Linked DNA regions of Homo sapiens: regions 2, 3, 4, 5, 6 and 7 are each linked to region 1. The links are contacts of gene promoters, found by promoter capture Hi-C in blood cells and fetal thymus (Javierre and others, 2016). All regions are on one chromosome and are shown on one strand. Each heading gives the region's core, a stretch centred on a gene start or on the middle of the fragment in contact. The rest is flanking DNA. Distances are from core to core; before and after follow the strand shown.

Region 1 (2,868 bases), core at 110-2,609:
CAGGAAAGTCTGTTAGATTTTTTTCCTCAATATGTCTTTGAAATAAATTCAGCTTAACTTCGAAAGTACAAATATGGTCAAAGGCAGCAGCAGCAAAGACTTTACTAACTCGTAATTCTTCACTGAGTTCTCGAAGGTGTTCCATAATGTCCACCAAGAAGCCAAAGTCACAAAGCCATTGTTTGTCTGAGAAGTGGACTGTTGTTGCCCCTACTGAAACCAAGAACGCTTCCATTTCTTTTCTTAGAGAGAATATTAGTTTTAAAGTTTTCCCTCTCCTAAGCCAATTGTTCAGACATCGTCCATTAACCCTTTCACCATGCTCTGATTCAGATTCCGTTAGTAAAGTCTGAAATTCAGGTCGCCTAACGCCTCTGGTCTTAATCAAAACTATCCATTCGGATATGGTATTTATGATCTGATTAACATCTACATCATAGGAGCTCAACAGTTCCAAGTGAAGAAATCCTGAATAATGAATGACATTCCAACAGTTGGGGCTTACGGCCTTTTCTCTCATGTATGAGACGAGTCCTGAGTTCTCACCAATCATCCTCAAAGTATGGGTCGTGGTCAGTCCAACCATTCTCTGCAAGCTAAGCCCTGCTGTCTGCAGGGACTCTAGGATTGCCGACATGAGCGCACCAACACTGAAATGATGAGTCAGGTTGATTATGGTCAGAAGATCTTCTTGCACCTCCAACTCAGGGCCTACACCGCGGATAAAGACCAGGAGGTAGTTCTCATAGGCCACAAAAGCCTGGTCGTCCAAGGCAAGAGAATAGGCTTTAAAGTCCCTGGCTCGGTTAAAAAGCTGGTTGCGTAGATTCCTGTCAATGCTCAGGATCCTCTGCCTTGTGATATCTGGAGATAAGTCAACGCCTTGCAGGACGCTTACATGCTCGGGCAGTACCTCTCTCAGCAACACCTCCATGCACTGGTATACAAAGTCCCCCTCACCCCAGCCGCGACCCTTCAAGGCCAAGAGGCGGCAGAGCCCGAGGCCTGCACGAGCAGCTCTCTCTTCAGGAGTGAAGGAGGCCACGGGCAAGTCGCCCTGACGCAGACGCTCCACCAGGGCCGCGCGCTCGCCGTCCGCCACATACCGCTCGTAGTATTCGTGCTCAGCCTCGTAGTGGCGCCTGACGTCGCGTTCGCGGGTAGCTACGATGAGGCGGCGACAGACCAGGCACAGGGCCCCATCGCCCTCCGGAGGCTCCACCACCAAATAACGCTGGGTCCACTCGGGCCGGAAAACTAGAGCCTCGTCGACTTCCATCTTGCTTCTTTTGGGCGTCATCCACATTCTGCGGGAGGCCACAAGAGCAGGGCCAACGTTAGAAAGGCCGCAAGGGGAGAGGAGGAGCCTGAGAAGCGCCAAGCACCTCCTCCGCTCTGCGCCAGATCACCTCAGCAGAGGCACACAAGCCCGGTTCCGGCATCTCTGCTCCTATTGGCTGGATATTTCGTATTCCCCGAGCTCCTAAAAACGAACCAATAGGAAGAGCGGACAGCGATCTCTAACGCGCAAGCGCATATCCTTCTAGGTAGCGGGCAGTAGCCGCTTCAGGGAGGGACGAAGAGACCCAGCAACCCACAGAGTTGAGAAATTTGACTGGCATTCAAGCTGTCCAATCAATAGCTGCCGCTGAAGGGTGGGGCTGGATGGCGTAAGCTACAGCTGAAGGAAGAACGTGAGCACGAGGCACTGAGGTGATTGGCTGAAGGCACTTCCGTTGAGCATCTAGACGTTTCCTTGGCTCTTCTGGCGCCAAAATGTCGTTCGTGGCAGGGGTTATTCGGCGGCTGGACGAGACAGTGGTGAACCGCATCGCGGCGGGGGAAGTTATCCAGCGGCCAGCTAATGCTATCAAAGAGATGATTGAGAACTGGTACGGAGGGAGTCGAGCCGGGCTCACTTAAGGGCTACGACTTAACGGGCCGCGTCACTCAATGGCGCGGACACGCCTCTTTGCCCGGGCAGAGGCATGTACAGCGCATGCCCACAACGGCGGAGGCCGCCGGGTTCCCTGACGTGCCAGTCAGGCCTTCTCCTTTTCCGCAGACCGTGTGTTTCTTTACCGCTCTCCCCCGAGACCTTTTAAGGGTTGTTTGGAGTGTAAGTGGAGGAATATACGTAGTGTTGTCTTAATGGTACCGTTAACTAAGTAAGGAAGCCACTTAATTTAAAATTATGTATGCAGAACATGCGAAGTTAAAAGATGTATAAAAGCTTAAGATGGGGAGAAAAACCTTTTTTCAGAGGGTACTGTGTTACTGTTTTCTTGCTTTTCATTCATTCCAGAAATCATCTGTTCACATCCAAAGGCACAATTCATTTTGAGTTTCTTTCAAAACAAATCGTTTGTAGTTTTAGGACAGGCTGATGCACTTTGGGCTTGACTTCTGATTACCCTATTGTTAAATTAGTGACCCCTCTTAGTGTTTTCCTGTCCTTTATTTCGGAGGACGCACTTCGAAGATACCAGATTTTATGGGTCATCCTTGGATTTTGAAGCTTATAACTGTGACAAAAAATGTGAAGGGAAGAGATTTGAAACATGTGGAAGGAAAAGTGAGTGCAGACTATAAACTTCCAAAAAGACAAGCCCAAAATACACCTAAACGTTATGTCAGATTATTTTGTTAAAATCAGTTGTTAGTGACGTCCGTACGTTAATAGAAAAAAGAATGCTTCAGTTTGGAGTGGTAGGTTTCTAGAGGGATTTATTGTGAAAGTATAAACTATTCAGGGCAATGGGACTGAGAGAACAGTGGGTAGAAAGGACCACTGAAGGAAAGGAAGAGAATTGGAAGGTAGATGAAAGAAGGAGCAAGAACCTGGGGATGTTTTTTCCTTTTCACTTG
Region 2 (2,878 bases), core at 193-2,692, 4.6 Mb before region 1:
TGCTCTGTGGCCCAGGCTGGAGTGCAATGCCACTGTCATGGCTCACTGCAGCCTCAACCTCCTGGGCTCCAAGGCTCCTCCAGACTCAGCCTCCTGAACAGGCATGTGCCACTGCACCCAGCTAATTTATTTATTTATTTATTTTTATTTTTATTTTTATTTTGAGACAGAGTCTCGCTCTGTCGCCCAGGCTCGAATGCAGTGGCGCAAGCTCTGCTCACTGCAAGCTCCGCCTCCCGGGTTCACGCCATTCTCAGCATCCCGAGTAGCTGTGACTGCAGGCGCCCGCCACCACGCCCAGCTAATTTTTTGTATTTTTAGTAGAGACGGGGTTTCACCGTGTTAGCCAGAATGGTCTCGATCTCCTGACCTCGTGATCCGCCCGCCTCGGCCTCCCAAAGTGCTGGAATTACAGGCGTGAGCCACCGCGCCCGGCCCAGCTAATTTATTTTTATTTTTTGTTTTTTGTAGAAATGAGGTCTGGCCATGTTCCCCAGGCTGACAGCTTCTAACAGAAGCAAACATATGCTCCCCTTGTAACCAGTGCGTTCACTTGCAGATATTTGTCCCAGAGAAATGAGAGTTTGTATCCACCAAAAAAACGTGTACCATAATAGTGACTATAGCCAGAAAAGAGATGAGGGAGGGGGGAAAGGCCGGAAGGAGGGAAGGAGGCAGGCAAGCAGGTAGGAAGGAAGCAAGCTTGGTGTCCATCAACTGGGTAAACGTTTAAAAAATACGGTATCTTTGCACAGTGGAGTACTACTCAGCAATAAAAAGGAAGGAACTGATATGAACTACTTATATTCCCAACAGGATGGATCTTCTAATTTGTTATGTTGAAGGAGAATATTCTGTATTACTTCAAGTTTATGAAGTCCAAGAACAGGCAAAATGAACCTACAGTGACAGAAAGCAGAATACACTGTAGTGGTTGCCTGAGGCTGGATAAGGATGGGGCCAGGGAAGGAAGGTAGGTCAGGAAGGCCCACCACGGAACTTTCTGGGGTGATGGGCACGTTCTATTTGTTGATCTGGGCGACGGTTACACAGGTGTACACATATATAAAAATTAGTGGAGCTGAACACGTAAGGTCTGGGCATCACACTTTATGTAAGTTAAACTTCAGTAAAGTGCTCTCAGCACACATCCGCAGCCGCACCCACACAAAATCCCAGGAGGCTCAGTACCAGCTGTGGTCCGGGCCTTGCCCACCTCGGAGAGGCCACGACCCAAGGCATCCGGTTTCCTCTCGCTCCAGTCTAACTTCCGCGCATCTACGAGGGCCGGGACTGCCGCTACCTTTCTGGAAGGCGCCGGCCGGCCAGTCACCGGAGGGATCCCGCCAGAGGCGGCTCCGCGTCTCCAGCAGCGGGGCAGGGACCCGGGCGCCCCGCCCTCGCCAGCGCCCGCCCCCGCCCGCCCCCGGCCCGCCCTCTGTATCTGGCCCCTGGGCAGCTGCCCGGGGAGGCGGCCAGCGAGCTGGGGCCGCGCAATGTCGCACGGAGCCGGGCTCGTCCGCACCACGTGCAGCAGCGGCAGCGCGCTCGGACCCGGGGCCGGCGCGGCCCAGCCCAGCGCGAGCCCCTTGGAGGGGCTGCTGGACCTCAGCTACCCCCGCACCCACGCGGCCCTGCTGAAAGTGGCGCAAATGGTAAGTGAGCGCGGGGCGCGAGGCCGAGGTTCTACAGGGCGTCCCGGGAAAGCAGGGGTCCGGGAGCGGACGCGCCGGGCGTCTGGACCCGGCCGGAGCCCAGGGAGCATCGCGCAGCGGGCGGGGCACCGCGTCGCTAAAGTTCGCGGCAGGCTTCCTCCGGGAAAGTTGCTGCCGCAGCCCCCGCGCTGGAGCTCAGTCCCCAGAGCCGCCCCGGCCCTTGCTCCCGCGGACCCAGGTCGCCAGGGTCGCAAGTTTCTCCGGCCACCCCCCTGCGAAGCCTGACCCGCCTACTGACTGAAACCACGGGCAAAGTTCCTTTTCGTCTTTCTTCCTCTTCTCTGGGCCGCGCCGCTTCGAACCCGAGCCGGGGGTGGAAGAGTCGCCCAGGCGGCGGCGCTGAGGGAGCGAAACCCGACCTCTTCCCCGTCCACGGCCTCCTCTTTCCTCCGAACCCAGCGCGGCAGGGCTTCCCTGCTCTGTGTGCAGTTTCGCTCGAAGGAGGAGGTCAGAGGGTCTTGTGTTCCATAGTGGGGAAAAAGAACTGGGACCGTTGAGACGGCCGTCCTGGTCCCCTGCGCCCTCAAGTTCCGAGGGAGGGCCCGGGTCTCAGGGGGCTCTGGAGGGCAGGGGGTCAGTTGGGAAAGGCCTGTTGTCAGGGGCTGGTACTCATGTAGGGGAGCCAGACTGTTGAATGGGAGTCACCCGTGGAGCCAGGCAGGATGAGTGTCTGGGCTTGGATTGTGACCAACTCAGCACAAGGGCCTCCTACCAGGGCAGACGTTGCCTGGCCGATTCTCTTGTTCCCCACTCTTTTCTTTTCTCCCCTCCCGTTTTTTTCTTCTTTAAAAGTTTGTAATCTGAAACAACTTTTCCGTTTGTATGATGTGTTTTGAAACTGGGTTGGGCTGTTTGTGAGTCTCCACCATTGTAATGTTTGCACCAAGAACGGTGGGGAGGGGAGCGGTAAGTTTCAAAAAGAGGTGTGGGGAAAGGAGTGTGGGGCTGGACAAGGTCACACACCCAGAAGCTGGGGCCTGCTAAGGTGGCCTGGCCCCAGGGGGTTGGGCACAGGACGTCTGTGCATCTATAGCACTGCCATTCCAGACACTGAGTGTGCATGAGGTGGCCCTCATGTCTTGCTTGGGCCAGACCTAAAGAGAAGGGGCGCTGAGTTCCTGCCTCCCTAAGAACGGTGTCTAGATAGACCAAAAACTAGGAAG
Region 3 (2,776 bases), core at 277-2,776, 3.5 Mb after region 1:
AGTGTGTGTCAGTTACACAGTATTTAATATAAGAGGTTTTATCCCTAGCTTACATTTAAGTGAGGCAGTGAATAGCAGTTCTTTTTTGACATGAAAATTAAAACACTTTAGTGTGTTGCTATACAGTTAATTCAACCCACAATGATGGTTGCAGTGGAACATGTAATTTTGCATGCTTTAAAAAATAGTCAAAAACTTGCTGTATGTTGGCCGGGCGCGGTGGCTCACGCCTATAATCCCAGCACTTTGGAAGGCCGAGGCGGGTGGATCACGAGGTCAGGAGATGGAGACCGTCCTGGCTAACACGGTGAAACCCCGTCTCTACTAAAAATACAAAAAAAAAATATTCCGGGCATGGTGGCGGACACCTGTAGTCCCAGCTACTTCAGAGGCTGAGGCAGGAGAATGGCGTGAGCCCGGGAGGCGGAGCTTGCAGTGAGCCGAGATCGCAACACTGCACTCCAGCCTGGGTGACAGAGCGAGACTCCGTTTCAAAAAAAAAAAAAAAAAAAAAACTTACTGTATGCTGAGCACTACAGGCACTGTGGGACGTGTATTAACACATAATGGATTTTGAAGTACTGGTAGTTGAAAACATGCCACTTGAACAACCTCGAGTGAACATAGCCATGCTGCTACTACTGTGACATACCAATTAGGGGTGAAGCTTGAGGATACTTGTCAAAGTTCAAAGCAGTAGAAAATACTTGGTAACTTAGATTTTTCACTAGGTACTCTTGTAATTCTGCCTTGGATCCCTGGACACCCTGGATTTTATTTTTAGGATGTTTGGCCACAAATTGTTACTGTAAATTTTTTTTTAAAAAAAAGCCTAACAGTTAATATTAATTACCTTGTTTGTTACGAGAATGAATGGCTCGGATGTGTGCAGTGGCTCATACCTGTAATCTCAGCACTCTGGGAGGCCAAGGCAGGTAGATAACTTGAGGTCAGGAATTTGAGACCAGCCTAGCCAACCCCGTCTCCACTAAAAGTCCAAAAATTAGCCCAGTGTGGTAGTGTACTCCTGTAGCCCCAGCTATTTGGGTGGATGGAACAGAAGAATTGCTAGAACCTAGGAAGCAGAGGTCACAGTGAGCCAACGTTGCGCCAGTGCATTCTCCATCCTGGGTTACAGAGCAAGACCCTGTCTCAAAAAAAGAAAAAAAAAAAGAATGGTTTTCAACACGTCCACTGCCCGAGTGGAATTATATATAGTCAGAGGTGGGTTTTTTGTGTTTTTTTTGAGGGTTTTTTTTTTCTTTTGACACGGAGTCTCACTTTGTCACCCAGGCTAGAGTGCAGTGACGCAATCTTGACTCACTGCAACCTCAGGCTCCCAAGTAGCTGGGATTATAGGCACCTGCAACCACGCCCAGCTAATTTTTGTGTTTTTAGTAGAGATGGGGTTTCACTATGTTGGCCAACCTGGTCTTGAACTCCTGACCTCAGGTGATCCACCCATCTTGACCTCCCAAAGTGCTGGGATTACAGGTGTGAGCCACTGCGCCTGGTCAAGAGGTAGTTTTTAAATTCATAAAATGGGCTGGGCTGGGTGCAGTGGCTCATACCTGTAATCCCAGCACTTCAGGAGGCCAAGGTGGAGGGTTGCTTGAGCCCAGGAGTTGGAGACCAGCCTGGGCAACGTAGCAAGACCCTGTCTCTACAAAAAATATAAAAATTAGCTGGGTGTGCTGGTATGCACCTGTAGTCCCAGCTACTTGGGAGGCTGAGGCAGGAGGATGGCTTGAGCCTAGAAGGTTGAGGCTACAGTGAGCCATGATCATACTATTGCATTCCAGCCTGGGTGGCAAGCAAGATCCTCTCTCAAAAAAAAAAAGGGACTGGATTACAGTTTTGATTAAAATATGCTTGAAGTTAATAACCTATTCTGGCTTACTGAACACAAAAATAAGTAAAATACATAGTGTACCAGGTGTTGTGTAACAGGAAGAGTGCTTTTCAAGGAACAAAGAAAGTGTCTTTGATAATGAGTGACTTCAAAGCTGATTTCTTAATCTGTGGTCTTGGCTCGTTCTAGTGCCCACCAGAAGTATGTCCGACAAGCCTGGCAGAAGGCAGACATCAATACAAAATGGGCAGCCACACGATGGGCCAAGAAGATTGAAGCCAGAGAAAGGGTAATAACTTAGGGTCATTTGAATTCTGGTCCTTTCTTTTTTTGGAGGGTTCAAGATAGTGTGAGAGGGATAATTTTTATTTGTTGTTTTTTTTTTAACAGAAAGCCAAGATGACAGATTTTGATCGTTTTAAAGTTATGAAGGCAAAGAAAATGGTAAGATTTAAGATCTGTATTTTTGTGTAACTTAGCTTTAAATAATAAGGGAGCAGTAGCCAAATCCCATTTCAGGCTGCCAGCTTCTTGGAAGCTTTCTGTAAAAAAGGAGAATTTATCTTCATTTGTATTTCATGATGTCCCTATGGAATTGTTACCTTTCTTCAGATGTAGTTGTAGGGAAACAGACTACTTAATGCCCTTTCTAAAACCAGCATAAATTGGATTTTATTGTATGTATACACAATAAGTGCTTTCTTACATTGATAATTTTCAGAGGAACAGAATAATCAAGAATGAAGTTAAGAAGCTTCAAAAGGCAGCTCTCCTGAAAGCTTCTCCCAAAAAAGCACCTGGTACTAAGGGTACTGCTGCTGCTGCTGCTGCTGCTGCTGCTGCTAAAGTTCCAGCAAAAAAGATCACCGCCGCGAGTAAAAAGGCTCCAGCCCAGAAGGTTCCTGCCCAGAAAGCCACAGGCCA
Region 4 (3,137 bases), core at 62-2,561, 3.9 Mb before region 1:
TTTTTGTTTTGTTTTGTTTTTTTAGACACAGTCTTGCTCTGTCACCCAGGCTGGAGTGCAGTGGTGCAATCATAGCTCACAGCAGCCTTGAACTCCTGAGCTGAAGCAGTCGTCCCATGTCGGCCTCCTGAGTAGCTAAGTAGCTGGGACTACAGGCGAGTGCCACCATGCCTGAATAATTTTTTTTTTTCTAAAGACAAGATCTTGCCTTGTTGCCAGGGTTGGTCTTGAACTCCTGGCCTCAAGTAATCTGCCCACTTTGGCTGCCAAAGTGCCAAGATTACACATAAATAGTTTTCTTAGAACACAGCCACCTATAATCCTCTGCATATTGCATATGGTTGCTTTCACGCTACAACGGTAGAATGGAGTAGTTGCAACACAGATCTTAGGACCTACAAAACTGAATATATTTATGTTCTAGCCCTTTACAGTATAAGCTTGCCAAAGGAATATAGATTGTAGATTGTTTCTGAGATTTTTAGTATTTGACTATGTTTGTAGTTGAAATGGCAATAGTAGTAATAGCCATTGTTGTGCTGAATGCTTTACCAGTATGTGTCACTATTCCTCCCAATCCGAGCTGCATGCTCTTATCCACATTTCACAGATGAGAAAGCTGAGACCCAGAGGAGTTAAATGACTTGCCAGTAGCCACAGAGCTGGGGAGCAGTAGAGTCTCTAAAGTTACATTGCCTGACGTTAGGGCCTGAGTTATTTTCACAAGGCTATGCTTCTGCTCATAGTGTACTGTTTGGTTCCCATTTAAATGCACAGACAGAGTGTGCTGGATGCAAAGCCCCCTGCATACTGGAGAATATGAAGGGACCATGAGAAGGCTGTCACCCTGCAGGCACTCATCTCTAAACATGGTACATGCTCTAATATAGACTAATACTTCTCAGAGTCTGATCCTTAGACCAGTGCTGTGCAATAAGTACAGAAATTCAGCCTAGGCACTTAGAAACTTGCAGCAATTTGAGAAAGTAAGTCTATCTGTTGAATCTAATAATGAACAAAATCATTACGCATCTATTTTTATTTCATTGTTCTAGTAATGTTTTATTTTTATTTTTTTAGACAGAGTTTCGCTTTTATTGCCCAGGCTGGAGTGCAATGGCACGATCTTGGCTCACTGCAACCTCTGCCTCCTGGATTCAAGCGATTCTCCTGCCTCAGCCTCCTGAGTAGCTGGGATTACAGGCATGTGCCACCATGCCCCGCTACTTTTATATTTTCAGTAGAGATGGGGTTTCTCCATGTTGGTCAGGCTGGTCTCAAACTCCTGACCTCAGGTGATCCACCTGCCTCGGCCTCCCAAAGTGCTGGGATTACAGGCGTGAGCCACCACGCCTGGCCTCTAGTAGTTTTTGTTTGTTTGTTTTTGAGACAGAGTTTCACTTTGTCGCCCAGACTGGAGCGCAGTGGCATGATCTTGGCTCACTGCAACCTCCACCTCCTGGGTTCTCGCAATTAAACCTCGGCCTCCTGAGTAGCTGGGACTACAGGCTCACACCACCATGCCAGGCTGATTTTTTCGTATTTTAGTAGAGATGGGGTTTCACCATGTTGCCCAGGCTGGTCTTGAGCTCCTGAGCTCAGGCAATCCACCCCCCTCAGCCTCCCAAAGTGCTAGGATAACAGGTGTGAGCCACCACACCCGGCCTATTTTTCTAATAATTTATTTTTATTGAATTTTTATGAAAGGATCAATCCTTGATAGGCAGGAAAGAGCACTAATAATTAAAAAAAAAAAAAAAAAGTCCGGCCGCGGTGGCTCACACTTGTAATCCCAGCACTTTGGGAGACTGAGGCGGGGGGATCATGAGGTCAGGAGATGGAGACCATCCTGGCTAACATGGTGAAACCCCGTCTCTACTAAAAATACAAAAAATTAGCCGGGCGTGGTGGCGGGCGCCTGTAGTCCCAACTACTCGGGAGGCTGAGGCAGGAGAATGGCGTGGAACCCGGGAGGCGGAGCTTGCAGTGAGGTGAGATTGCGCCACTGCACTCCAGCCTGGGCGACAGAGCGAGAATCTGTCTCAAAAACAAAACAAAACAAAACAAACAAACAAAAAAACACAACTCATCCTTTACCAAAAATAGTTTGAGAAGCACAGAGGCCTCATCAGTAGCATAAGAACAATGAGAGGGAGAAAAACGTGTGGCCCCAAAACATAGGAAAGCTTTGTTTTTCTGTTCTAACAGGGCTCTACACACAAGTTAATCATCAAACTCAGTTTCTTTGATCTGTTTTCCCTTATGGAGTTTTCCTACTCAGCAAATTTTCATTCCCAGTGTCAGTTCTGACCTGCATTTCAATAAAAAATTTTATGTAACCTACCTTCCTTCCTTTCTTCCCTCCTTCCTTCCTTCCCTCCTTCTTTTCTTTTTCTTTCTTTCCTTCTTTCTTTTCTTTTTCTTTCTTTCTTTCCTTCTTTCTTTTCTTTTTCTTTCTCTCTCTCTCTCTTCTCTCTCCCTTTCTTTCTTCTTTCTTTCTCTCTCTTTCTTTCTCTTTTCTCTCTCTCTCTCTTTTCTTTCTTGTCTCACTTTGTTGCCCAGGCTGGAGTGCAGTGGCGTGATCATGGCTCACTGCAGCCTTGAACTCCAGGTCTCAGGTGATCCTCCCACCTCAGCCTCCTGAGTAGTTGAGACTACAGGCACAGGCCACCATGTCTGGCAAATTTTTCTTTTTTCTTTTTGTAGAGATGGGGTTGCCCCATATTGTCCAGGCTAGTCTTGAACTCCTGGGCTTAAGCAATCCGCCCACTTCAGCCTCTCAAAGTGTTGAGATTACAGGTGAGAGCCACGGCACCCGGCCTAATTTTATATTTCTAATATTTTTTAAATGCCATTAAAGTGATTATAATTTGGAATAGGTTTTAAAAGAGTATTAAATTACACACATTAAAGGCAAGAAAAATAAACATGTACTCCATTAGAAAGACAAGGCAAATAAATGTGATACATTGTCCTAGACTGGATCTTAGACCAGGGGAAAAAAAATCGGTAAGAGCATTATTGGGAAAATTAACAAAAGTTGAATATAGGCTATGGATGAGAAAATAATATTGTTTCAATATTAAATTTTCTATTTTCGATAAGTGATATTGTGGCCATGTTCTTTGGAAATACAC
Region 5 (2,901 bases), core at 370-2,869, 3.6 Mb before region 1:
ATACACATGAGAAAGCAAGACCCTTTTCAGTTACACAAAAATAATAGCTAATTTACTAAAGAAAGTATTTTCAATTAATTTCAGTGCTCTTGAAGGAGGTGTGTGTGTGAAGGAGAGAGGGAGGGAAGGAGGAAGGGAAGGAGTCAGGGAGGGAATACATATCTCTGAGTGTCTTTTTTTCCCTCCAAAACCACCCAATATGGTCAACATTGTTTTTTGCTTTGTTTTAAAGTGTTAGATTTAGGAAATTTTCCTCAGTGAGGAACAAACAGAAGCAGGAAGTCTAAACAAAAGCAAATTAAATCAAGACATGGACATCAAAAACAATTTTGGCTTTACTTTGCGGTGGAAGTTGGTCCTATATCTAACACTGCACAAGGTTTCTTGCACAATGAAAAGAGAAGCAGAAGTCCCTTACACTGCCTCGCTTTGCCAGAGAATCACCGTAGTCTGCTGGCAAAGTCCGCTTGCTGGACTTTTTCTGCTCATGTTCAACTGCATCTTCAATTATAGGCTCAAGCCTCATCTGGACAAACACCAAAGATTGGGATCAATGTCTTTTCATTATACAAAGAAAGATCTAACACCCTGTTTCATGTCTCTTCAGTCCAATTAAACAAATGCATGACTAACAGGATTCAAAGTTAAAAAAAATGCAAAACCCCAGCAGTGACAAAAATTGGACTTTCTAGGCTCCAACTTAAGTCTCTTGCCAACTTCAAAGTTTTTAAGGTCTGTTTCTAAGACCTCATTGGGATTTCAGCATCTTCATTTAAGATCCCACCCAGGAAACAGTCTATCAAAATCCCCAAATTTAAATATTTTCCCCAGAAATTTCACAGAGAATAACATGTCAAACTGCCACCCAATCTTCCCCAACCCTTTTGTAGCAGAACTCATCTTAGAAATAGACTAATATGCAACCTTTGCTTCTCTTCCAAAACCAAATGCTTTACTACATTACCTCTGTGAGGATTGTGGTATCATAGGACGGCTGATACTTTTCTTTTTCATGAGCTGTTCTCTTCTCCATCTTCTCTCGGTCAGTTTTTTGTTTCCTGTCTGCACCTTTAGGCTTAAAAACAAAGTATACTATTTCATCTATCAGGCTGCAGACACACAGCTTTACAGGCAAAACTGAGCCTTAATTACAGAAAACCCGGGTTCTCTGTCTTACCTTAAAAACTTTGATTTGGCAGCTAGCTGAGTGTAGATGATCTGTGTATTCTCCATTTTCATTCTGCTTAAAGGTGTCAACCTGGATCCTAAAGGGCACTCCCTTTTCACCTCCGTGCTTCCGTGGAGTAAATTCTGTGCTGATGCAGTGTACCTATAAAACGATTCAGGCTGAAATGGATTCAAAGAACTTCCACTGGTTATTTTTCTATTTTGTTCCCTCTTGAGTGACCTGACACCACTATAAATTCAAGATCCTTTAAAATAAACTCATCACACATATTAGCCAAATTATCTATGAACCTAATTGTTTTTAAGATATGGCTTCCCTCTCACAAATCCAACTGAGCCTCTCCAGACTTTCTGAGCTCTTGCCCATCACAGTGCCTCTCCTCTAATGCAGGACTTGGGTCCAATCAGGGGTACAACACTACAGTAGCTTCCTATGTATACTGCCCACCTCCACCTTGGACTGTCTGCTCATCTCAGACCCAGGGTACTAAGCCCTGTTCAATCCACAGCAATCTTCACTTCATTGTTTAGAGCTTCTGTTGTTTGCCCTCTACTGCCATTACCCCTATTCTACCCAGCCAACTATCTTACTGCTGTTCCTACAGATGCCAATTTGTGATACTTTGCCTGGGGAAATTTTACAGTCCAGAAAACCCACTACCCATCCTATTCTGTATCCATCTAAACTCTTTGGTCAACTCTTCAAAGTCCATTCAGGATCCAGAGGGCAATACTCATCTTCCACCACTCCTGCCCTGTCTCCTAATACCCACCCTGGATGACAGCCTTAGGGTTTCACACAGAGTTAACAGCAAGACCTTGGTCATTTCTGACTGCTGCACATCCCCCTCTTCTAATGACTCACTATTAAAACTGATCTCTGCAATATGACAACACAACCTGATATGTAAAGCCAGGTCTTGTATCACTTTGATTTACTACATAACTAGTTGCCTTATAGACAAACACCAACAGTATGAGTTTACATCAATATTCAACGGATATAAACCATGCCCCCAGGGATTAACTGATGGAGAATAATATTGGTAGAATACCAAAATGCAAAATACAAATGATTTTTTACAGTTCATGCAAAGCATAGCTTATGAAGGCTGGTCAGCAAGTAAGTGGTTTTCCTTTTCTATATATTACCTACCTGGTAGTTTAAATTCCACCACATACAAATTTGAACATTGTGGGTATTAGAATCACTATTTTTTTTAAACACAGAATAATGATATTATAGTTACTTTTTAAAACTCATCTCTTAGAGACATGATATTTATGGATGAAATGGTATGCCTGAAACTTGCTTTAAAGTACTCTAACAGGCTGGGCACAGTGGCTCACACCTGTAATCCCAGCACTTTAGGAGGACAAGGCAGGTAGATCACTTGAGGTCAGGAGCTCAAGACCAGTCTGGCCAATATGGTGAAACCCCCATCTCTACTAAAAATACAAAAATCAGCCAGGCATTGTGGTGCACACCTGTAATCCCAGCTACTCAGGAGGCTGAGAGATGAGAAGAGCTTGAATCTGGGAGGCGGAGATTGCAGTGAGCCGAGATCATGCCACTGTATTCCAGCCTGGGTGACAGAATGAAACTCCATCTCAAAAAAAAAAAAAAAAAAGTGCTCCAAGAATAACTAAAAGGGGGCGGAAACTACTAAAAACTGCTAAAGCCAGGTGATGGTTACATGGACAATTAGTCAT
Region 6 (3,177 bases), core at 221-2,720, 3.5 Mb before region 1:
CTCAGCCTCCCAAAGTGCTGGAATTACAGGCATGAGCCACCGCTCCTGGCCAAAAAAATTTTTTTAATTAGCCAGACATGGTGACCTGCACCTGTGGTCCCAGCTACTCCAGAGGCTGAGGTGGGAGGATCACTTGAGACCAGGAGGTCAAGGCTTGCAGTGAGCCATGATAATGCCACTCTAGCCTGGGTGACAGATGAGACCCTGTCTGGAAAAAAAATAGAAGTATCAAGCAGCGCTAAATAGTAATGTCATAAAGAGACCAAAATATAAAAGAAGGATAGTGTTAAAAGAAAACTTTAGACAAATTAAATATAAGAGTTTAATTTTGCAAAAAAAAGATTTGTCAATCAGGTAGCCACCCCGAACCAGAATATGTTCAGAGAGACTCCAACACTGTTGCATGGTGGAAGAAGATTTATGGACAGAAAAAGGACAGTGATGTACGGAAAACAGAAGTGAGATATAAAAACAGCTTGATTGGTTGAGTGTATTATTTGAACAGTTGGCCTCCTGTAATTAGCCAAAACTCAGCGATTGTTATAATAGGTTATAGACCATTTATACATCCAGTTAGGTTACAATTTACTGTGTACAGAGAAACCTTTAGGCTGAACTTATAAGGAGGCAACTTTAGGCTAAACTCAATTTAACAATTTCTCCCCTTTTGTTCAACCTCTCAACTTGACCAAAATAGAGAGGTTGACCAAAATCCTAGACATTGACATTACTTTCTGACCATTGTAAATGTACTTATCTGGTCGCAAATCCCATTGGGAAATAGTACAACAGTGGGTTTTGTAAGGTGCGAATAAGGACTTTAGGTTATTTTCTGGTAAGCGTTAGAGTAGAGGATACTTTTTTTTTATTATGTTGGAATTTTTATTTATTTAAATTTTATGGACATTTTATGGATGATTGTATGTAAACATTTAAAACTTTTGAAAGTCCTTAGTGCACATAGGAGACTACTATTAAGATTACCAAGAGGATAATACCAAGACTTTGGAGTATGCCCCTTAGCCAGGGTCAACATGAACTAAACTAACTAAAATCAAATAGATCAAAGAAAGAGCTAGATAAAAGATCAAGCTGTTTTAACCAAGCAGCTTGTTTATTAATCCCCTGTAACTGAATCTCTATAATACCTGATATGTTCATCTCTGTGCAACAAGAAGTGTGAGCAACTGCAGATACTTCTCTGTATCTGCATACAGAGATACATACTTCTCTGTATGCAGATACAGAGAAGTATCTGCATACAGAGATACATACTTCTCTGTATCTCAGTAAGTAATATACAGCAATTCCGTTATCTAGCACAACTTTAGCAAGAGAACTTAAAGTCTGTTGTGCCATGGCCTTTGCAGTAGAGTCAGCTATAGAGTCTACTATGAGGGATAAATTTCCTTTTTCTTTCTTTTTTTTTTTTTTACTTGTTGAGACGGAGTCTTGCTCTGTCACCCAGGCTGGAGTGCAGTGGAGCGATCTCGGCTCACTGCAAGCTCCACCTACCGGGTTCATGCCTTTCTCCTGCCTCAACCTCCCGAGTAGCTGGGACTACAGGTGCCCGCCAGCACACCCAGCTAATTTTTTTCTGTTTTTAGTAGAGACGGGGTTTCACCATGTTAGCCAGGATGGTCTCGATCTTCTGACCTTGTGATCCGCCCACCTCAGCCTCCCAAAGTGCTGGGATTACAGGCGTGAGCCATCATGCCCGGCCTTTTTTTTTTTTGAGATGGAGTTTTGCTCTTGTTGCCCAAGCTGGAGTGCAATGGTGTAATCTTGGCTCACTGCAACCTCTGCCTTCCAGGTTCAAGTGATTCTCCTGCCTCAGCCTCCTGAGTTTTTGGGATTACAGGCACCCGCCACCATGCCCAGCTAATTTTTTGTATATTTTTTTTCAGTAGAGATGGGGTTTCACCATGTTGGCCAGGCTGGTCTTGAACTCCTGACCTCAGGAGATCCACCCACCTCGGCCTCCCAAAGTGCTGGGATTACAGGTGTGAGCCACCGCGCCCGGCCATGAGGGATAAATTTCTTTTTTTTTCCTTTTTTTTTTTTTGAGAGAGTCTCACTCTGTTGCCAGGCGGGAGTGCAGTGGCACAATCTCGGCTCACTGCAACCTCCACCTCCTGGGTTCAAGTGATTCTCCTGCCTCAGCCTCCTGAGTAGCTGGGATTACAGACGTGCACCTCTATGCCCAGGTTTTTTTGTTTTTTTGTGTGTGTGTGTGTTTTTAGTAGAGACAGGGTTTTACCATTTTGGCCAGGCTGGTCTCGAACTCCTAACCATGTGATCCACACGCCTCAGCCTCCCAAAGTGTTGGATTACAGGTGTGAGCCACCATGCCTGGCCATGAGGGATAAATTTCTAATCATTGCTTCATTTATTCTAAATTATGGAAAAAGAGACAATAAATGATGTCTGTATCTACAAGACTGAAGGCCTCCTGGCAATGTTTTTTTTTAAATTTATGATATTGGTTAAGAGGAGTGGACTAAAGTTTTTGACTGATTATGAGGTAATAAAGGTATTAACATCAGTTATCTATATTGGGGTTTTTTAATTGTTTAATTTTTTTTTTTTGAGACAGAGTCTTGCTCTGTTGCCAGGCTGGAGTGCAGTGGTGCGATCTCGGCTCACTGCAACCTCCTCCTCCTGGGTTCAAGTGATGCCCCTGCCTCAGCCTCCTGAGTAGCTGGGACTATAGGTGCCCGCCATCATGCCTGGTTAATTTTTTTGTATTTTAGTAGAGACGGGGTTTCACCATATTGGCCAGAATGGTCTCGACCTCCTAACCTCGTGATCTGCCTGCCTTGGCCTCCCAAAGTGCTGGGATTACAGGCATGAGCCACTGCACCCAGCCTATTTTTTAATTTATTAAGGCACAAGGTTGTTTGTTAGAAGACTGGCTTTGAAATCTTTTATAAATAAAACTATATTCTATGAGTGCATATAAGACTTTTATTTATTTTTATTGTCTATAGAGGCATATGTAAGGAAAAAATTAAGAGGTAAGAGTCTCATGATGGTAGAGAAGTCTTGATTTGTGATCTTGGGAAAGTTGTCCATGTCTAGGATGTTGTCTGTTTTCAGAGAAAGTTTTTTTTTTTTTTTTTTTTTTTTTTTTCTGGTTGGTTTTTTGTTTTTGTTAGTTTTAGGTCTCTAATGGGT
Region 7 (2,801 bases), core at 109-2,608, 3.6 Mb before region 1:
CTACGGATTTGCTATTTGGGACATTTAAATGGAATCATATGACTATGTGGTCTTTTGTGACTGGCTTCTTTCACTTAGCATGTTTCATGGACCATCCGTGTTCTAACATGTACCAATGCTTCATTCTTTTTAATGGCTCCATTCCATTGTATAGGCATACCGTATTCTGTATCCATTCAGATGATGGCCATCTGGGTGGTTTCCATTTTTTAGCAATTATGAATCATGCTGCTATGAACACTTTTCTATGTTTTTGTGTAGATAAATTCTGCTAAGTATACACCTGGAACTGGAATTACTGGATCACATGGTAACTCTGTTTAACTTTATTTTACTTATTTTATTGGAGACAAAGTCTCACTTTGTCACCCAGGCTGGAGTGCAGTGGTGGTATCTTGGCTCACCACAACCTCTGACTCCTGGGCTCAAGTCATTCTCATGCTTCCGCCTCCCAAGTAGCTGGGATTAGAGGCATGTGCCACCACACCCAGGTAATTGTATTTTTAGTAGAGACAGGGTTTCGCCATGTAGGCCAGACTAGTCTCAAACTCCTGGCCTCAAGTGATCCGCCCGCCTCAGCCTCCCAAAGTGCTGGGATTATAGGCGTGAGCCATCACGCCCCGCCTCTGTTTAACTTTCTGAGCAACTGCCAAGCTGTTTTTCAAAGTGGTTGCAATAATTTTACATTTCCCCTATTAATGTATGGAAGGTGATTATTTGTTTTTGAGATAATTATCTGAGCTGTACGTTTGTATCTTAACTTTTCTATACTCATTCTTCAATAAAAAGTAAAATGATAATAACAGCAACAACAAAACATCAAATGAATAACTACTGTATCAACACCAATAATAGGGACTTGTCTGAACTGCTTATTTTCTCTTTTTTTCCTACAAGCTGTTCACTAAGATACTTGGGTAGCCAGGTCAATTCAATTCAATTCAAAAACAGAATGTGAAAACAAGTGAAATGGGACGGAAACCCTGGGAGAGAACGTTATCCCACCAGTAGTCCCTACTCCCCCCATGCATTTCTATTAAAGCACTGTGCTGATTTTCAAAGATACTAACTATCCACTAATTCTCCCTCTCTTATTTATACCCAGGAATTGTCAAAACACTCCTACGTACACAAGTAATAACCAAGGATCACACGGTTAGCAATGGTCCCAACACTCCCACAGAGTTCTCTCAACACCTTGACCTAGGGATTTTGCCCCACCTAAGCTCCTGCCTTGGGGGCAGATATAAAAACTTTTCAGAAGACTTCAGGCCAGGAGCAGTGACTCACACCTATAATTCCAGCACTTTGGAAGGCTGAGGTGGGTGATCACCTGAGGTCAGGAGTTCGAGACATGGCGGGGGAAACCCCGTCTCTACTAAAAATACAAAAATTAGCTGGGCGTAGTGGGGCACGCCTGTAGTCCCAGCTACTTGGAAGGCTGAGGCAAGAGAATTGCCTGAACCTGGGAGTCGGAGGTTGCAGTGAGCTGAGATCGTGACACTGCACTCCAGCCTCAGTGACAGAGCGAGATTCCATCTCAAAAAAAAAAAAAAAAAAAAAAGAATCAGATCACCTCTTTATAAAAATCAGTCATAACAGTCAAATTGGCTCCAGGGAAGATAAAAATATATACTGCATTTTGTGTATATGTAAGCATTTAAAACCCTCTCAGAGAGAAAGAAAACAAGAATGAGAGTTGTGACTCAGAACCATTAATTATACCGAAAAATAACACAGGGAATAATTTTAACATTTCAATGCTAACTGCTTGGGTTGATCATTAGATACAGATCATCAAAATAAGATGTATAACTGCATGAGAATGGCTTTTTTTAATAAATTGTCACATATGGAAGACAATTTTATATGCTTCAGATCCTAGAAGACAACCACTTTTTTATTCACTTGGTTATAGTCTCCATGATCCACACAGAAAATACTATGCTCATGGTAAGTGCTAAACGACTCCTGAACAAACATATAAACATGTAAAGATTATTTGCTATTGAATTTCCAATTAATTTTTTACTTAATTAGAAAGAAAATGCCTTCCAGTCAACACAGCAACCAGTGATCCTTTTCAAACAGAAGTTAAACCATTTCAATTCTCTGAATCCTTACATCAGCTCACTTTCAACCAAAGTCCTTACGAAATCCTACGTCTCAAAAAAAAAAAAAAAAAAGCCCTACGCAACCTGCTCTTCAACCCCTCTTCTCGTCACCCTCATTCCCCCTGCTCCAACTACCCCGGCCTCCTGATTCTACTCTTCTACTGGATATCCTAATGGCTCATTTCATTCAAATGTCATCTTTTCAGTGACAACATGACACTGGAGTCCTCCCACCCACACTCCCAATTTCCCTACCCTAGCTCTATACACAGCTCTTACCACTTTCCAAAAATATACATGACTTACTAACTTTGTATCTGCTATAAGCACGTAACTCCAAATACGTGTTTCTTCAATGACTGATGCCAGCATCTAGCACAAAGGAGCTCAAATACTTGCTAAATCAATGAACTGATTGCTGCATTAATAATCAACCAATTAGTATTAAGATTGAAAACTAGGTCTCCAGACAAGATTATAATTTCTACTATGTTGAAAGTCCTAAAACCTTGATGGTTTTTGTAATCCCATAAATGGAAACAGACTTTTGAGTACTAAAGACAGAATGTTAAACGGAACTAAAAGTAGGGTGTTTCTTTATTTTTTTTTTTTTAAGACAGGGTCTGGCTCTGTCTCCCAGGCTGGAGTGCAGTGGCATGATCATGGCTCACTACAGCCTCAACCTCC

The links. Contacts are between HindIII fragments. The CHiCAGO score rates a contact against its expected background, and 5 or more counts as called.
Region 2: the fragment with the promoter of CMTM7 here is called in contact with the fragment with the promoter of EPM2AIP1 in region 1 in 1 of 17 cell types (M0 macrophages); the score reaches 7.7 in M0 macrophages.
Region 3: a fragment that was not itself captured here is called in contact with the fragment with the promoter of EPM2AIP1 in region 1 in 1 of 17 cell types (non-activated CD4 T cells); the score reaches 6.1 in non-activated CD4 T cells.
Region 4: a fragment that was not itself captured here is called in contact with the fragment with the promoter of EPM2AIP1 in region 1 in 1 of 17 cell types (total B cells); the score reaches 5.7 in total B cells.
Region 5: a contact is called between a fragment that was not itself captured here and the fragment with the promoter of EPM2AIP1 in region 1, in 3 of 17 cell types (activated CD4 T cells, naive CD8 T cells and total CD4 T cells). The highest score is 8.1, in activated CD4 T cells.
Region 6: a fragment that was not itself captured here is called in contact with the fragment with the promoter of EPM2AIP1 in region 1 in 3 of 17 cell types (non-activated CD4 T cells, activated CD4 T cells and total CD8 T cells); the score reaches 8.2 in non-activated CD4 T cells.
Region 7: a fragment that was not itself captured here is called in contact with the fragment with the promoter of EPM2AIP1 in region 1 in 1 of 17 cell types (M1 macrophages); the score reaches 5.2 in M1 macrophages.

What each region holds. Positions count from the first base shown.
Region 1 is chr3:36,991,772-36,994,639 of GRCh38, forward strand. It overlaps EPM2AIP1 (EPM2A interacting protein 1), which reads right to left and starts at 1,360. Exons shown (of 1, transcript NM_014805.4): 1 at 1-1,360. The coding sequence starts at 1,306. It overlaps MLH1 (mutL homolog 1), which reads left to right and starts at 1,747. Exons shown (of 19, transcript NM_000249.4): 1 at 1,747-1,892. The coding sequence starts at 1,777. RefSeq lists enhancers at 531-610, 641-960, 1,081-1,430, 1,801-2,020, 1,937-2,448. The HindIII fragment of the contact is 4,668 bases long and covers 1-2,231 here.
Region 2 is chr3:32,390,411-32,393,288 of GRCh38, forward strand. It overlaps CMTM7 (CKLF like MARVEL transmembrane domain containing 7), which reads left to right and starts at 1,443. Exons shown (of 5, transcript NM_138410.4): 1 at 1,443-1,655. The coding sequence starts at 1,497. The HindIII fragment of the contact is 6,143 bases long and covers 701-2,878 here.
Region 3 is chr3:40,459,366-40,462,141 of GRCh38, forward strand. It overlaps RPL14 (ribosomal protein L14), which reads left to right. Exons shown (of 6, transcript NM_001034996.3): 4 at 2,042-2,141; 5 at 2,243-2,296; 6 at 2,574-2,776. Among named protein-coding and RNA genes, the nearest start is that of RPL14, 3.4 kb to the left of the region's middle. The HindIII fragment of the contact is 1,723 bases long and covers 666-2,388 here.
Region 4 is chr3:33,099,837-33,102,973 of GRCh38, forward strand. No RefSeq gene overlaps it. Among named protein-coding and RNA genes, the nearest start is that of TMPPE, 4.3 kb to the left of the region's middle. The HindIII fragment of the contact is 1,746 bases long and covers 439-2,184 here.
Region 5 is chr3:33,408,272-33,411,172 of GRCh38, forward strand. It overlaps UBP1 (upstream binding protein 1), which reads right to left. Exons shown (of 16, transcript NM_014517.5): 6 at 1,178-1,330; 7 at 965-1,075; 8 at 419-526. It also overlaps a transcript of FBXL2 not described here. Among named protein-coding and RNA genes, the nearest start is that of UBP1, 31 kb to the right of the region's middle. The HindIII fragment of the contact is 3,325 bases long and covers 1-2,901 here.
Region 6 is chr3:33,443,021-33,446,197 of GRCh38, forward strand. No RefSeq gene overlaps it. Among named protein-coding and RNA genes, the nearest start is that of UBP1, 4.2 kb to the left of the region's middle. The HindIII fragment of the contact is 4,305 bases long and covers 1-3,177 here.
Region 7 is chr3:33,426,640-33,429,440 of GRCh38, forward strand. All of the region lies in intron 1 of UBP1 (upstream binding protein 1), which reads right to left. Among named protein-coding and RNA genes, the nearest start is that of UBP1, 12 kb to the right of the region's middle. RefSeq lists an enhancer at 1-13. The HindIII fragment of the contact is 3,479 bases long and covers 1-2,801 here.